2 separate regions of the Homo sapiens genome follow, and region 2 is linked to region 1. The links are contacts of gene promoters, found by promoter capture Hi-C in human tissues and cell types (Jung and others, 2019). All regions are on one chromosome and are shown on one strand. The core of a region is centred on a gene start or on the middle of the fragment in contact, and the rest is flanking DNA. Distances in the headings are between cores, read along the strand shown. Region 1 holds the start of INSIG2 (insulin induced gene 2). Region 2 overlaps C2orf76 (chromosome 2 open reading frame 76).

What was found. Contacts are between HindIII fragments. The study calls those that stand out against the background at their distance.
Region 2: a contact is called between a fragment that was not itself captured here and the fragment with the promoter of INSIG2 in region 1, in 1 of the 25 tissues and cell types used here (spleen).

Annotation. Positions count from the first base shown.
Region 1 is chr2:118,087,180-118,089,793 of GRCh38, reverse strand. It overlaps INSIG2 (insulin induced gene 2), which reads right to left and starts at 1,323. Exons shown (of 6, transcript NM_016133.4): 1 at 1,253-1,323. LOC107985940 (a long non-coding RNA gene) reads left to right here and starts at 1,363. Exons shown (of 3, transcript XR_001739662.3): 1 at 1,363-1,543. RefSeq lists enhancers at 1,369-1,558, 1,569-1,618. The HindIII fragment of the contact is 12,719 bases long and covers 1-2,614 here.
Region 2 is chr2:119,346,993-119,349,606 of GRCh38, reverse strand. All of the region lies in intron 1 of C2orf76 (chromosome 2 open reading frame 76), which reads left to right. Among named protein-coding and RNA genes, the nearest start is that of C2orf76, 19 kb to the left of the region's middle. The HindIII fragment of the contact is 5,326 bases long and covers 1-2,614 here.

The sequences.
Region 1 (2,614 bases), core at 74-2,573:
CCTTTTCCGTGTGACCATCTGCAAAAGCAACAGTTGTCAGTTAAACAGAATCAACCTCTTTCCCGAGTGGACATGATTCACAGCTTGGTCACTGTACAGCAGATGTGAACTGAGAACTACGACATAACACAATGACAAAACACAGTACTGAGCACAAAGTACAGGGAAAGAATGAAAGACAGAAAACAGGAAGAGCACACGTCTGATTTTTGTTTTCTTTGGGGCCCCCATTAGTAGCATTCCCTTCATCCATCTTCATTCAGTGGTTCACTATCAGGGCCAAACCCAAAAGTTACAAAACACCATCTAGCTACTGTCTGGCTGCTTTTATTTTTTCTGCACCAGGACGGGAGCACGCATTCCCCTGCAGTCCTCAGCTCCACCGCAATACTGATACCAAACAGTTTCAGTGGCCCAGCTGCCAAGCCTAACCATTCCTTTTTAAAGCATTTCTTCATCAATCCTACAAAACAGCAAGTTCTTCATGGTATATTTTCCTAGAGCATCTAGCTAATATCATACTTTAACAACTTTTTCCAACGTTAACTGGACATGGGTCATTATCACTTAAGTGTTAGCGCCATTGCCCGCGCCCACTCCCATAATCCACACTGCTTTCCTTCTCCATATTGCCAATCCCCACTAAGCAACCCTAAAATCTAGTAATTATCATCAAATCCACTTCTAGGCCCTGGCAAGAATTATTTGGCTTTACCGAAACACCTATTCCATAGGTAACCAATTCCAGTCAAAAATGCCAGAGTATTACTCCTCAACCCAATGCCCTATCTCCTTAGTGGATTATAAACTTACTACGACAACCTGTCTTCTTTGGATCCAATCCCCGCCCAAGTCTGAGTCTTCTCTCCCAGGCTACAAGCCCCCAAGTCCTGGCAGCTCTATGCTTGACAGCTCGCTGACCTCCACCTCATCAGACCATTGGGTCGCCCTTCTCGCCGTCCTCCAGCCTTCTTCCCGCTCAGACACTCATCCACTGTCCGGGGAGCCTCGACCCCTCCTATACCCCCTCCCCGATCCCGCAGTCCCCTTCTGGACCTTGCGGACCCCTCTCAGGTAAGCGGAGCCCCTTGCCCTGCAGGCCCATCAGTGGTCCTGGCTCCCCGCACCTGCCACCAGGGTTCCCAGGCTGCAAAAACACAAGTAGTTCTTCTTCCCAAGGGCCACCCTCCTCCTCAGGCCGCTTTCCTCAGCACCACGTCACCCGCGCTTCGCCGGGAGACCCCCAACTCACCCCCGCCTCCGCCATCTTCTGGGACCAGCCCCCGTACCCCCTACCGCCTCTTCCTCCTCCACTCCCACAACTCCGCCCGAGCTCCACTGCGCCTGTGCGGCCAACGAGGCCGCGCGCAGGCGATCGGGGCAGAAGAGCTTCCGGTTCCTGCTGTCAATAAGACGTGGACCTGCGAGCCGGGGCAAAAGGGCTTCCGGTCTGCGGGAAACTGGAGGCTAGCGGTGGGCGTGGACCGTCGAGGTGACTGGCGGTTGTCGGATCTGCTGTTGTTTGCTGACCAGGCAGCCGTAGGTAATGACGGATGCCCAGACCCTGTGGGCGGAGTAAAGGAATCATGCACTGATACACGCACACTCACCGAGGGGCGCGTCCGTCTGCGTGCCCCTCATCTCGTAGCCGAAAGGAGCGCGTTCCGGGGCAGGCCTCCGGGTACTTCCCGCAGAGGACCGGGCTTTATACTCTTTGCTCCTTTTCCTCCCCTAGTAAGTCATAACTTATTTTGGGAGAAGGGCATAGTTATTTGTCTCTCGTCTCCATGCTACAGCACTTTATGTGCTTTTCATTCAAAATCGTTCCTCGAGGACGACCAAGTAATGTGATTTGGGGGACAGTTTTCATAGGAAGGGCTTTATAAGTTTACACCAACATAAAGAAAACTTAAAAACCTTATAACCGCTTATTTTTCAGAAGTATTATTTTTCATTTAATCTAAAACCATACTTTTAGAACATGAAACCAAGCCAAACAGATCTTTGCAGATTGTGCAAGCGAACTTTTTTTTTTGAATGAAAGTGGTGCCATCAATGCAAAAGCAAGCCCATATAAGTGCCGAAAGGTACTCGTCATAAGGAGGAGTTGCTTCCCTATTCTGAATTTTTATTTATTTTTATTTATTTATTTATTTGAGACGGAGTCTCTCTCTGTCACCCAGGCTGGAGTGCACTGGCATGATCTCGGCTCACTGCAACCTCTGCCTCCCGGGTTCAAGTGATTCTTCTGCCTCAGCCTCCCCAGTAGCTGGGACTACAGGTACATGCCACCATGTCTGCCTACTTTTTGTATTTTTAGTAGAGATGGAGTTTCATCATATTGGCCAGGCTGGTCTCAAACTCCTGACCTCGTGATTCGCCCGCCTCATCCTCCCAAAGTGCTGGGATTACAGGCGTGAGCTGCCCCCTGAATTTGTTTTTTTTAAGCAACTCTTTTTAAAAAGAGAGAAAAAATAATCTCTCTTGAGTGTATTAGTTATTGAGCTATTCCATTTGGAGGTGGCTTAACCCAAAACGTGTATGGATGTGGTAAGATTACAATGGACTTGAATGTTCTAGATGAAATCTGGGCCGAGAGTAATTGCATAATAGT
Region 2 (2,614 bases), core at 61-2,560, 1.3 Mb before region 1:
AGGCTTGGCAACAGCGTGGTGGGTGTGGGGAACTGTGAGCTGTCATTGTAGCTGGAGGGATATGTTAAAAGCAGATTTTGATGTTGACGTATACCACTGAAGAGGCAGCGGGACAAGTTCAGACTCCTCTGGGCGTGTGACCTGCTTCTGGTGCCTCCGAATGCTGTTTGGATTTATTTGGTGTTCCTTGGTACATAGCAGGAGTATAACTAAGTTCCTAGCCTTTCCCTCCTTTCCAGTACTCTGTAAGTTTGGTATTGTTTGCTTTGTTCTGTTGTCTCTTCCTTCTTAAAAACAAATGGAAATAGCTGAGTTTTAAAAATAACTTATTGTTGATGCATACACATATATCAGAAAAGTGAAAATACAAGTATACTGGAAATAGCTTAATTTAAAAACACATGATTGGTAAAACATCAAACAATATTAAAAAGTATATAAAACAAGTAACAGTCTCTTGGATTTCTGCCCCTCAGAGACAGCCACTGTTAATGTTTTGGTAAAGGCTTTTCTGGACATCTCTCCATGCTTATGTTCACATGTAACACACCTACATTACAAACATGCAGTGATACTGTACACAGGCAATTTTCTAATTTTTGTTTTGTTTTGTTTTTTTGAGACCAGGGTCTGGCTTTGTCTCCCAGGCTGGAGTGCAGTGGTGCAATCTTGGCTCTTGGCAACCTCTGCCTCCCAGGCTGAAGCGATCCTCCCACCTCAGCCCCGCAACTACAGGCTTACGCCACCATGCCGGGCTAACTTTTGTATTTTTAGTAGAGATGGGGTTTCACCATGTTGCCCAGGCTGGTCTGTTGAACTCCTGGACTCAAACAACCTGCCCACCTTGGGCTTCCAAAGTGCTGGCATTACAAGTGTGAGCCACGGCACCGAGCCCTTTAACTTCTTTTCTTTTTTTTTTTAAGACAGAGTTCCACTCTTGTCTTCCAGGCTGGAGTACAGTGGCACAATCTTGGCTTACTGCAACCTCTGCCTCCCCGGTTCAAGCGAATCTCCTTCCTCAGCCTCCCGAGTAGCTGGGATTACAGGCGCGCACCACCACGCCTGGCTAATTTTGTACTTTTAGTAGAGACAGGGTTTCACCATGTTGGTCAGGCTGGTCTCTAACTCCTAACCTCAGGTGATCCACCCGCCTTGACCTCCCAAAGTGCTGGGATTACAGGCGTGAGCCACTGTGCCCAGCCTAAGTTGTTTTTTTACTCACTGGTATGTCATGGCCATCTTTCAAAGTTGGTATCCATACATCCATATCACCCTTTAATGGCTGCAGGGTATTTTGTTTTACTGTGTGGCATAATTTACTTAACCATTTCTTTACTGTTGGACATTTAAGTGGATTCTAATTTTGTTAACTGTTAGAAACATTTCAGTGAAAGAAAATCTTTGAATGTACACCTTTGCGCACTTATAGTCTTCTTGCAAAATGTTTTTATTATGAAAAATGTCAAGCATTTACAAATGGAATAGTATATGAGATTTCATACATAACCAACTTCAACAGTTAACAATGGTCTAGTATTTTTTTTTTTTTTTTTTTTTTTTGAGACAGAGCCTTGTCCTGTTTCCCAGGCTGGAGAGTAGTGGTGTGGAGCACAGTACATAGCTCACTGCAGCCTCAAACTTCTGGCTCAAGTGATCTTTCTGCCTCAGCCTCCCAAGTAGCTAGGATTATAGATGTCCATTGCTTGTATCAATGTCAATTTCCTGGCTGTAAAATCGACTATACTCAAGCAAGATGTGGCCAAGTGGGGGAAAGTGGATGAAGGGAAATGGGAGCGCTGTATTATTTCCCAAATCTACATGTGAATCTACAATTATTTCAAGATAAAAAGGTTAATTAGCTGAGGTCATTGCACTCAGCTAATTAAAAAATTATTTTTGGAGAGATGAGGTCTCGATATGTTGCCCAGGCTGGTCTTGAACTCCTGCGCTTAAGTGATCCTCCTGCCTCGGCCTCCTAAGTGCTGGGATTACAGGCGTGGGCCACCATGCTTGGTCTCTACTATTCTTTTTTTAATCTACGCTTCTATAATTGTTTTTCCTCTGCTAGGGTATTTGAAAGCAAATACAGGTCATCATTTCACCTGTATATTCCTCAGTCTTTTAAGATAAGGACTTAAAAACACAACCATAATATCATATAAACAGAATTAACATTAATTCCTAATATCATCTAATATTATACAAATTAGGATCCATACAAAGACTAAATGTTGCATCCGTTGAGATTAGCTCTTTTAAGTCTCTTTTAATATATAGCCTTCCTCTCTTTTCTTTATTTCTCATGCCATTTGTTGAAGAAATCGAGTCATTTTTCCAGTACAATTTTCCACCATCTGAACTTGGCTGATGGCCTCCTTGTGGTGTCATTTAACATGTTCTTCCATACCCTGTCATAGCTGATAAACTGGGAATGAGATCTGGAGGCTCGATTCATTCACTAATGTTGATTATGAAGTTCAGGTGTTGTCAGCCCCAGATGTACCCATGCTGAAGTTCCCCGTCAGTCTTACCTGATGGTTTTAACACCGCTTTATGATCATCACCTACACTCATTTCATTAGAGTTTTCAGAATGATAATTTTTGGAATTTTTT